2 separate regions of the Homo sapiens genome follow, and region 1 is linked to region 2. Evidence: promoter capture Hi-C in 16 types of primary human blood cells and fetal thymus (Javierre and others, 2016). All regions are on one chromosome and are shown on one strand. Each heading gives the region's core, a stretch centred on a gene start or on the middle of the fragment in contact. The rest is flanking DNA. Distances are from core to core; before and after follow the strand shown. Region 1 overlaps ZDHHC14 (zDHHC palmitoyltransferase 14). Region 2 holds the start of TMEM242 (transmembrane protein 242).

What was found. The method cuts DNA at HindIII sites, captures the fragments that hold promoters and counts their contacts. A CHiCAGO score of 5 or more calls a contact.
Region 1: a contact is called between a fragment that was not itself captured here and the fragment with the promoter of TMEM242 in region 2, in 1 of 17 cell types (total B cells). The highest score is 5.1, in total B cells.

What each region holds. Positions count from the first base shown.
Region 1 is chr6:157,548,990-157,555,112 of GRCh38, reverse strand. The region is part of intron 2 of ZDHHC14 (zDHHC palmitoyltransferase 14); the gene reads right to left. Among named protein-coding and RNA genes, the nearest start is that of MIR3692, 23 kb to the right of the region's middle. RefSeq lists an enhancer at 2,070-2,892 and a silencer at 4,750-4,950. The HindIII fragment of the contact is 6,763 bases long and covers 1,039-6,123 here.
Region 2 is chr6:157,320,730-157,326,580 of GRCh38, reverse strand. TMEM242 (transmembrane protein 242) reads left to right here and starts at 3,062. Exons shown (of 4, transcript NM_018452.6): 1 at 3,062-3,169; 2 at 3,776-3,876. The coding sequence starts at 3,082. TMEM242-DT (TMEM242 divergent transcript) reads right to left here and starts at 2,947. Exons shown (of 1, transcript NR_187268.1): 1 at 2,104-2,947. It overlaps LOC105378076 (a long non-coding RNA gene), which reads right to left and starts at 350. Exons shown (of 3, transcript XR_943165.2): 1 at 1-350. RefSeq lists enhancers at 2,350-2,779, 2,960-3,299. The HindIII fragment of the contact is 1,401 bases long and covers 2,703-4,103 here.

The DNA of each region.
Region 1 (6,123 bases), core at 3,171-5,670, 230 kb before region 2:
TCCTTAAGGGACAGCTGGGAAAGAGAGGGGCCCTGGAAGAGAACCCTGGGCAACCGTCACCCAGTCTGTCAAAGGTCTCTCCTAAAAACATGAGAACTGTATAGAGGAGAGAGAAGACCATAGCTCCCACTCCCACTTCGGGTGGCAGGATTGACACACAGGGGTGCAGGCACCCCTAATTCAGGTGGGGACTTATATAGAGCACAGGGGACTCAGCCTGTAACTGACCCTGCCCAAGAAGTCAACAGCTGAGGCAAGGCTGATGAGAGTCATAGGCATTCCTGTGTGATTCTTGATAGATCTCTCTCTGCAGAGTGTCACCACCATCACAGTGGTGATCACAGAGGAACAGCCACATCCCAAATGCCGACGTTTTTTTACTCGCTGGCTCAAAAAGCTTAGAATTCTTTCAAATGATCAAAAATAAAATAAATAAGATGGATACATCCGAGAGATTTCAGTTAAGTCTTTAGGTCCAATTCCTTGTCCTCTAAATCTGTGCAGTCCAGTTTGGGAGCCCCTAGTCCCGTGTGCCTATTCTACAGAGCTCTGGAAGTGTGGCTAGTCTGAACTGAAATGTACTGTGTGACAAAAGAACGTAAAATCTTCCATTAGTACTCTTTTATACCAAATACACATCAAAATAATATTTGGGATATTCTGGCTTAAGTAAAATATACTATTAAAATTAATTTACTTTTAAAAATATGCTTTTTTACTTTTTAAATGTCACTGCTAGAACTCGTGCCGTCTCGCCTACGGCCTGCCTTACATTCCTAGTGGAGCTGCCACTCATCGTCCACCAAGGGTGTTATATTTGGGTTTGGTGAAGGCAGCAGAAGATTTTAGCCCACTTCTATTCTGCTAATTTCTACTGAATGTAAAGAACCACTCCCTCATTCACTCCAGGACACTTAGACTTCGAGTTTCCATCCTTAAAGGAAAATGAAGAGATTTTTAAAAAGTGGACGCTCCAAATTGTGGTGGTATGTAACATGGCATTCACCCACTTGGACTTGTGTTTTCTCCTAGAAAGCTTTATCTACAGTTTCTGAATAAATGGTGTTCGCTTCTGTCTATCTATGTCAGCCAAGTTTTTTCTCTAAAAGCCTTGGAAGGTAAATTTGGACAGATGAAAATTATGGGGAATTTCTTCCTTACCAAACATGGTGGCAGGAAGAGCCCTCATGGGACAACTCCACTCATCCCGGTGGCACCTCCGTCTGCTTTCCCTGTCCTCTCTCTAAGTACCCGCTAGGCTCTGAGTGCTGCCCATGTCAGACTTTCAACTACATGGTAGCCATCAATCAACTCATGTTTGTAGGCAATGATTCTTAATCTCAGAACTTATCTACCAGAAACACAAAATAAACAGTTAATGTATCTCCCATCCTTACATGTAAGTTTTCCAGGGCACAGAGGGAAGGGAGATACAGCTCCCCCAGAGCAGGCTGTATTTCCCCCCAGCCCTCTCCCACCCCCCAGCATACGAGTCTAAAGTAAAGAAGTGAGAAAGGTCACCGGGAAGGCAAAGGGTGAGTTGGTTTGATCATGACAGGGGTTCGGAGGGTGATTATTATGGCAGAGTCTCAGTAATATCACAGATGTGCATGTGGACCCCAAAGAGGACACCTCAGCAAAGTCCTATTTTCACAGAGTGTGTGAACATGTGGATGACCTGAAGGCATCCGTGATAAGGAAGATCCCATCCTTGCCAAACTCTAGTCAGGCATCTCTGAGTGCTCTTCCCAGCGAGGCCCTGATTTGGGGGCTTCTATGTCTGTTTCTGCAATGCTCAATTTTAGCAAAAGTCCTGCTGAGTCGAGTTAGCCAGAACCCTCACCCTCAATATCTGATCCCCTTTGCTACTCAATGGGGCTCCTCATCCCCCACCATCCCCCAGGGAATCTCTGACCACCCTGGCCTGCCTTCGCCTGGAATCTGGTTAGGTTGGTTTAGCCAGAAGCCCCCTCAGCCCTGAGGCTTCCTTTTAGTAGTCTTCCATCCACTGCTCCCAACTCTGCTCCTTGGCTGTAAATTCCCACTGTTCCTTGCTGTATTTGGAGCGGAGCCCAATGCCTCTTCCCTACTGCAAACCCCACTGCACTGGTCCCTATGACCCTGCATGGTCTCCCTGAATACAGTCTGCCTTCATGTTTTAACAAATGTCCTGAATAATTTTAACAATGAGGTGTGAGAGGTAATCAGGGACAGTCTGAGTGTGTAGTTTGGCAGATGGCTCTAGGTTAGATCAGATTCCCAGTCACAACTCCAGCCACCAAAAACTTGCAGATGTGTATTATAAGGCAGGGTGTAGAAGGCTCCTGGGGCCGCTAGGAAACAAGCTGTCCCTGAGAGGCTCTGCAGGGAAGGCCTGGCTTCTGAGGCAGCAGCCTCTGCTCTCTAAGTCCCCTCCTGGGCTCAGCATGGCTGGGACTCTTTTCCATGCCGTTGCACCTGCTCAGTCTTCCCAGGTCAGTCTCCTCCCAAACAGGTCCCGCCACACCTCCTTGCCTTGGTCCATTTCCTCCGTCCTCATTGAGTCCTTTGCTTCCTTTTGTTCCTGAGCTGCCTTTCATGTTACCTCCACACTTGGAATAAAAATGCCTCCCACTTCCCAAGCACAAAGAGCTGCCCACTCCCCTGATTAACATCCTCCAGGGGGGTTTTTCTCCTGAAAAGCCCATCTGGCCTCCCCTCCTCCTCACGCCCAGCACATCCACTGCAGAGGGCTGTTCCAGAGATTATTGTGCCCAATGTGCCGCCTGCCCTGCCCTGCCGACTCTGCATGAAGGGTTTCATCTCTGGCTTCCTTCTAAAACCCAACTGACTGACTGACTCACTCCCTCACTCACTCAAAAGAGCTACCGTTCCATCATCTTGCTTTATCCTCCCAAATACGCCAGTTACACTACTAATGATAGTAATATTCCAGTGAGTCATTGAAATATCTTATTTTGCAGTACCTACAGTTTGCTTGTTGAATTTACATGGGTGTGCACGGAGCTTTGCATTTTAAAATTAACAGAAGACGTCATTTCTTCTGTTTAAGCAGTGGAACCGTCGAAATAATCCTCTAAAGTATTTAGGTTCCCAGATTTTCACAACCAAGCAAAGGAGAAAGAGGGATTTATTTCTAGAATCATGGAATGATAACGCTGGAATGGCTCTTTGCACTCAGTGGGTCTATTTTACAGACACTGAAACTAAGGCCCCAAGAAGTCAACACACTTCTCAAAGTCATAGACTAAGTTCATATGGCTATTTTAAATATGTAATAATAAGGAATAAGACGCTATTTATCTCACAGGCACTGCAGGGAGGGAGGTGATTAAACAGAACGCTCAAAGTAGAGGAACTTGTAGCTAGCAAAACTCCTGAAAATACGACAGTCCTGGGAGTTGCAGTGGAGAGGAAGCAGAGGCTATGCTGTAGAGGAAGGTCACAGGAGGGACGTGGAAAGGCCCCAGGGCTGTGCTTCTCACATTCAGGTGACTCACCTGTGGTCTTGTTGCAATGCAGATTCTGATTTACCAGGTGAGTCAGGGCCCAAGAGTCTGCATTTCTAATAACTCCCAGGCGATGCTGACATTACTCTTCCATGGGCCTCAGTTTGAGTAGCAAAGATTTAGATATTCTGTTTCAGGAGCCAGGAAGTTAAAGGAGGGCTATATATACCTGGACTTGGAACCAGACCCCATGCCAGGGTCCCAGGCCTGTCACTGATTGGCTCTGTTGTCAGTGGGTGGAGTTACACCTGTCTCTGAGCCTCAGTTTACTCATCTGTAAACCAAAGGAGTTGTCCAGGGTGACCTCCATGACTGCTGAGGTCCCTTTAAGCTGGAATGTCCCATGACTCAGAGCCCTGCAGTGGCCAGCACCCCAGGAGGAAGGGAGGGGACACGGAAAGCTGTTGTGAGAGATGGACAGACCCACAAGTCATCACCTCTCTTGATGCCCTTGGCTGGGTAGGGGTGGGCCTGGAATTTTCACTAACATGCTCCAGACCACTCTCTCCATGCTTTGACTGTATTCTTGAACCATGCATGTGGTCCCAAGTTTTCCATCCTCTTCATGCCACTTGGTCCTTTACTCCCCACTACACCACAACCTCTGTGTTCCTTGCCCTCAGGATGACCTTCTCCTCACCCTGGTTATGCCATCATCCTTCCCCTTCCATGGCCCTGTATATAAGAACTGATTATAATCACAGTATATTCTGTGTTTTAGCAGAGCATGTCAACATTGCTGTACGCCATCATCGTGCCAGCTCAACACAAACTCTAAAGAAAGTGACATTGGTGCAGTAAGAGAAAGATAGACTTCCCCTTACCTGAAAGGAAGTGGTATCCTGGCTTTAGGGAGGAGTTCATCAATTCTACAGAGGAGATTTCACATCTTTACACAGGTACACAAACTACACAAAGAGGGACATTCAGGAGGGGAAACACTGTGGTCGCTAGAATCCCTATGTGACACCATGGTCTCTCTAGAGTGTCTGTGTGACACCATGTTCTCTCTAGAGTGTCTGTGTGACACCGTGTTCTCTCTAGAGTGTCTGTGTGACACTGTGGTCTCTCTGGAGTGCCTGTGTGACGCTGTGGTCTCTCTAGAGTGCCTGTGTGACGCTGTGGTCTCTCTAGAGTGCCTGTGTGATGCCGTGGTCTCTCTAGAGCGTGTGTGTGACACTGTGGTCTCTCTAGAATGCCTGTGTGACACTGCAGTCTCTCTAGAATGTCTGTGTGACACTGTGGTCTCTCTAGAATGCCTGTGTGACGCTGTGGTCTCTCTAGAATGCCTGTGTGACACTGTGGTCTCTCTAGCGTGTCTTGTGATGCTGTGGTCTCTCTAGAGTGTCTGTGTGATGCTGCGGTCGCTAGCTAGAATGACTATGTGATGCTGTGGTCTCTCTAGAATGCCTATGTGAACTTAGGAATTCACACTCCTAGGCTCAGTGCAGGCTGAGCACCAAAGTGTGATCTCATCAAGTGAAATAACCCCCTTCTCTCAATTTCTCTTCCTGTAAGGAGGAAAATGCCACTTTCCACCCACAAAGCTCTCTAGAGGACCAAGAAGACAATTCTGTGAAGGACGTCCACCAGGAGACAGGAGCTACAAGACAGCTTTCTGGAGCTGTCCTCCTAAGTCCCCATGCCAATCAGTGTATAGTAATGTCGCCAACTTCAAAATCACGGAAATATGTTTGCATCAGACAATGGCTTCAATTCCAACACATGGTACATTCCCACAAGTTTGGATTTCCATAGGAAGAATAAATAACACTGGCTTCCTTGAATGTCCTGGATGAAAACCACACATCCTTCCAAATCCTGTGGAAAAACATCTCTGGCTCCCTCCTTCCCTTAGAATCAGACCCTTCAAAATCTTGTGGTATTTCCCCAAATACCATAATTTTGAGTTGTGACATCTGGTTTCCAGTTCTCCCAGGCTGGGGTTTCTTGTTAAAGGGACATCGGAATCTCGACATCCCGAGCTGCCACCCTGACCTTGTGCAGGAGTCTCACTGCCCCACTTCCTGGCATCCATGCACTCTAGATGGTTCTGGCACTTCCCCCAGACAAGGAAGCTACATTTTTTTCTAGGATGTACCTTTTTAGAAGCCTTTGTCTCTTCCAGAAGGTATGTCCGGCACGATGGGACTCCCCCACTCTCCCTTGCCTCAAACATCACGGAACATCTAGACATCAGTGAGCGTCCCACTAGAAAAAGGCCCCTGAATCTTCAAGAAGCTCCAAGAGGGGAGTTAGATTGTCTGGAAATTCCCCGAAGTTCTTCCTGCTACACCCACTGGAGCCCAGGATTTGAGAACCAAGCCCGCCGGCCGCGGCATACTAGGCTCGGCTTTCTGTTTCGAAGCTCGAGGCTGTACCGGGGAGAGAGGATGTGGTCCATGGGAAGGGGAAGTGCCACTGCTCCAGGGAGCCAAGCATGGCTTCCTCAGGGCCTGGCTCCTCAGGCAGCAGGAGGTGGGCAGCACTGTGCAGCGGGTAAGAGCACACGCTGTGATATCAGATAGGCAGGTGTTGGACTCCCAGCTCTGGCCAAGTGACCTCTGGCAAACCCCTTTCCTCCCAAGCACTGGCATCCTCACAGGTATAACAG
Region 2 (5,851 bases), core at 1,813-4,312:
CACAAACAGGCCTTGACCAAGGAGCTCGCACCTCCTCCTCTCCTTGGTATGTATCCCACAAAGATCCTCAAAATGCAAATTTTGAGGCTGAAGTGTAAACCATTGGTTTGTGTCAATTGCCTTTTCAGTCCTGTGTATATTGGGAAAACAAGCTTTCAAGTAGAAAAAAGGAAGATTGCCTTTTACTTTGGGGATTTAGAAAGAAGATAGAGGTTTGTGAGCTGCAACATCCAAAACAAAGCAGACACCAGTTTCCTAGGATGTGCAGTTACTTTCAATGGAGACCAGCTCTGGAATGCAGGACTCTGTAATTTCCCTAGATTACAAGATCTATTATCTCCCTTCTGTTCCTTATAGTAAGCAGTGATATAAACCTTAAATTATTATTATTATTATTATCATCATCATCATCATCATCTTGAGACGGAGTCTTGCTCTGTCACCCAGGCTGGAGTGCAGTGGCATGATCTTGGCTCACTGCAACCTCTGCCTCCTGGGTTGAAGCGATTCTCCTGCCTCAGCCTCCCAAGTAGCTGAAATTACAGGCGCCGCCACCACACCCAGCTAATTTTTATATTTTTAGTAGAGATGGGGTTTCGCCATGTTAGCCAGGCTGGTCTCAAACTCCTGACCTCAAGTGATCTGCCTGCCTCGACCTCCCAAAGCACTAGGATTACAGGTTTGAGCCACTGTGCCCAGCTTAATCCTTAAAATGTTTCTGTCGTTTTCTAAGGGGACAGCAAAGAAGAGAGTGGAGGAATCTGCACTTTTTCTCCCTAAGCAGTCTTGGGAAAACAGATTTCCAAGTGCTAAAGTGTATGGTGTGGATTTTAAGAGGTGTAATCCATAAGAGGAAGGCACACAGAAGATGTTCTCGAAGTGGAATCCGTGGCAACAGCATCACCTGGGAACTTAGACATACACGTTCTCAGCCCCCACTGAGTCACAGACTCTGGGAATGGGGCCCAGCAAGCTGAGTGCAATAAGCCTTCCAGGTGATTCCAATATTCAAGTTCACACTTGAGGACGACTGGCACAGTGGATAAGGAAGGACCTGCTTTTAAGCCCTGTCTCTGCCACTTAACAGCTGTGTGAGCTTGAGCAAGTTAGTCTTTCTGAGTTTATGGAGAGGAATAAATGAGATAATGTACTTGAAGCACTTAGTGCAATGTCAGATATATAGAAAGCACTCAATACATGTTAGCAGCTATGGTTACTGTTATGTATGAGGGGAAGGAAAAAGGATAGGTCCTTCAACAAATTAGCACAGCATTTACCAGCTTAAAAGCCCTTTCAGATACTGACGTGTTTCCAGGAAATCCAAAGGTCACATACATTCTGTGTGATCTCATCCACACAAAAATTTGAACAGAGCAGTAGTTTTTTATCATCAGAAACCCCACGGAGCTTTTACATTCTGCCCTGCCACCCGCGGGCCTTCAGAGCTCTAATCTCCCGTGGTAGATAGACCTTGATAATCCATCATTTTTAAAAATCCCCATAGGCAATGCTGCAAAATAGCTACTGGAATCAAAGGTGGTAATAGTTAGAGCTAACATGTATTGAATATTTATATGTGCCAGGCACTGTGCTAACTTCTTTATAGATGTTGCTTCATTTAATTCTCACAGTAATCCTATGAGTTAGGTACTATCAGTTTTTGTGTGTGGGGGGGGCGGGATGGGGTGGATGGCAGAGTTTCACTCTTGTCATCCAGGCTGGAGTGCAACGGCTCGATCTCGGCTCACTGCAACCTCTCCCTCCCAGGTTCAAGCCATTCTCCTGCCTCAGCCTCCCGAGTAGCTGGGATTACAGTCCCGCATCATTAGACTCCGCTAATTTTTGTATTTTTAGTAGAAACGGGGTTTCACCATGTTGGCCAGGCTGATCTCGAACTTCTGATCTCCACCTGCCTCAGCCTCCCAAAGTGCTGGGATTACAGGCGTGAACCACCGCGCCTGGCCTACTACCAGTTTTTAAATTTTACAGGTGAGGAAACTGAGCTATAGAGGGGCTAAGTTACCCCAAGTTCACACACCTGAGAAGCGGTTTAGGACCCGAGCCCAGGTTTGAGCTATTAACTGCACTTCACTGACGCAAAAATGGATGCATTCATTTACTCATTCATCCAACATGCATTTGATGTTGGTAACCAGTTAATATCTGAAAGCTGGGGGATATAAACTGAACATAGAGTCCCATCTCCATCCTCAGGAAACTCATGCCCTCCGGTGATGGGGGGCAGGACAAATAGCAGAGAGACCGCCTTATTTTACAAGATGTCATTGTTCTCTGAGAGGCTGAAAAGATTTTCTATCACCACTAGCCTCCTCCTCTCCACGGCCATTTACAGAATGGGCAAACCAGCCTCCCAGCGGAAGACCAAGCTTGCTAGCGGTCAACGTTGCCGGCAGCTCTGCAAGCGCTTCCAGCGGGCGTCGCTCTCCTTTCGGGGGTGGTACTTTCATTCGGTCATCCTGTGAGTGTTCCACTTCCCGACGGAGGCCGAGCACTCACACCGCGGCGGAGGTACCCGTCACCGCAGAACCGGGTGGCTGGCTCTCCTCCAGGGAGAAAGCCTGTCACTTATTCCTCAACACTGTTGGGAAGTTACCTAGAAAAGTACAGACAGAAGACCTAGGCTTGCGTTTTAGAATCGTGGAGTGTTAGCGCTGGCCAAATCGTTGGACACAATGTAAGCTTGATCAGGAAAATGAGCTCCAGGGTCTCACAGGCGGGGCCTGGAATCTTGGCGCAATCTGCGACCCTCACTGCCTCCTACAGTCGGGGCTGAGCGTTCTTTCAAACAGCCAAAGTAATCACTTAAGTCCAGCAATGATCTCCTTGGAGAAATCAAAAGATCCTCCCTAAGAGACGGCCTTGGAGGGCATCGCCCCTGGGGCTGGGCACAGCACGTCTTCCCGGCCCCGGCGCGGGAGGAGGGTTTGGGGACAGCGGCCGCACTCCGGACCCTTCTTCAGATTGCACAGGAGGAGGCGGTAGCGGAACCTTTCTCCTCCGCCTGGTTCTCGCTTCCACCCGGGCCCAGTTGGGGACGGACGCACTAGAGGCGACCTAAACATGGAGACAGCGGGCGCTGCAACTGGGCAGCCGGCCTCTGGGCTGGAGGCTCCGGGGTCCACGAATGACCGGCTTTTCCTGGTTAAAGGTAAGATGTGCTGTGGTGAGGTGCGGGCGTCGGGGTGAGTTAACCCCGGACCCTGGCTTGCTCTGGAGCGGGCATTCCCACACACATCCCGCTCTGAGAGCCCTTAGCTTGTGCTTGCCCCTGAGTTTAGCCCGCGGAGTCTGGCGGCCCAGGGAGGGTAGGTCGCTTACTGGGTGGAGTCTCCCCTTGGGCGGGGCGGGGGGCAGATCCCGCGAGCTATTCTCCCGGGCGTGCCATATTTCCCCGTCACCTCTGCAATTGTTCTAGAGCCTTGCCTTTTCTGATTGCCATCGTCTCTTCTCCTCCCCGTGAGAAACTTCACGCTGTGGTCCCAGGGGAGAGGGGAAGGGAAGCTGAACCTTTTCTCTGCGCTCGGGAATAATAATTCGGAATGACCCAAGGAACCAGAGGTCGTGCGGTCACGCGTGTTTCTCAGCCGCTGTCATTTACTGTTAGCAAGAGCTGCTTAGCCATGGTTTCTTGAATTTCAAAAGTGATTTTGATTGTAACTCGAATAGTATCTTAAACTTACTTTTGTACATCTTTTTAACCTCTTTTTATTTAATTTTTTTTAATATCCCCCCTCCTCCCCGAAACTCTTGGCAGGTGGAATTTTCCTTGGTACCGTTGCTGCAGCGGGAATGCTAGCTGGATTTATTACAACATTATCATTGGCTAAAAAGAAAAGCCCTGAATGGTTCAATAAGGTTGGTGACACTGAAATCCATTCATAGCATTGTTATTGTTTACAATATATGGCAGCTTTTGCGTAGAAAAAATAAAATATTGATGGTCTTTCACATTGCTTTAAGATGTGAATTTATATACGCTCATGGATTCTAGAAATGTACAAATTAACCAAGTCTTTATTTTCATTTAGAAGGATGTACTTATGTGCTTTCTTAAATTTTAGCGGAACAAGACTTTGAAAGCTTATCTGGTACATTTCCTATTCACAACATGACTTTGAATCTAAATTTGGGCCAGGCATCGTGGTTCATGCCTGTAATCCCAGCACTTTGGGAAGCCGAGAGGGGCAGATCACCTGAGGTCAGGAGTTTGAGACCAGCCTGGCCAACATGGCGAAAACCCATCTCTACTAAAAATACAAAAATGAGCCAGGTGTGGTGTGGCACTCCTGTAGTCCTAGCTACTCGGGAGGCTGAGGCAGGAGAATCACTTGAACCCAGGAGGCTGAGGTTGTAGTGAGCCCAGATAACACCACTGCACTTCAACCTGGGTGACAGAGCGAGACTCTGTCTCAAAAATAAATAAATAAATATTCACACAAATAACTGTGTAATTACAATTTGATGTGTGCTATGGAGGAAAAGTGTTACGTAAAACATCATAAAAAGTCAAGTTTCCTTTCCACTTACATTTATCTTTAATAATCATACTTAAGCCTTATCGATACCATAATGGCAAGAGACCATGTTTAAAGTGTGCTTGGATCCCCTCTGAATGCTCTAAGCTTATATGGAGCTTCCTAAATCACTGCTATGGACCTTGTGGGTCATTTTCTCTCTATGTTATAGAATGTTTTCAGAGCAGAAATATATTTTGTGGTGGAAATCAGAGTAGTGCCTTAACAGTAGAGTTTTGGTTGATTTCTAAGCCTAAGTTATGTTAATCCTTGGCTCACTGATCTTTTTAATAATCTGATGAAAACTAGGGATTCTCTGGGGCTGAAGAGCGCACGTACACATATCACAACTTTCCATCCTATTTTGTTATTCTGAGATTTGATCATCACAGATGCTCTTCGGGGTCTAACAGTGGTTTTCAAACTGCAGTCCACAGAACCCTGCTGATCCTTGATCCTTGGGTCCATGAAGTCAGAACTATTTTCATAATGATACTAAGATGCTTGTACTAATGGTACAGAGGCAATGGAGAGTAAAACTGCTGATACCTTGGTCTAAGGCAGTAGCACCAAACTGTGAAAGTCCTTGTGTCCTTCATTACAAAGTACCTGTATTTTTTAAAGCCAGTATTACTTAACAGTGTCCTTGTTGAAGAAATAAAATAGTTAATTTTATTAAATCATGACCTTCAAATAAACCTCATTTTAATATTCTGTGTAAAGAAATGGGAAATACAAGGCCGGGCGAGGTGGCTCACGCTTGTAATCCCAGCACTTAGGGAGGCCAAGGCGGGCGGATCATGAGGTCAGGAGACTGAGACCATCCTTGCTAACACGATGAAACCCCGTCTCTACTAAAAATACAAAAGAATTAACTGGGCGGGTGGCGGGTGCCTGTAGTCCCAGCTACTCGGGAGGCTGAGGCAGGAGAATGGCGTGAACCCGGGAGGCGGAGCTTGCAGTAAGCCGAGATTTCGCCACTGCACTCCAGCCTGGGTGACAGAGCGAGACTCCGTCTCAAAAAAAAAAAAAAGAAAAAAAAAAAAAGAAATGGGAAATAAATACATAAAGCATTTCTATTTTATACTGAAGTAGGATTTTTTCTCTAGAAAAGCAATTGAATTGCAAGCTGAACTAGCCACTTTTTTCCTATAGAATATCATTTTTACTTGAAAGAATATTTGGCAGACATCTTAACAATGAATAAAATGAGCTTGTCTTTTCAAGCAAACAATTGTCAGTATTTATTGCCACTGATAAAATTCAAGCTTTCAAGTGAAAATTAGATTTTAGAAAACTTTTATCCCAGCACTTTG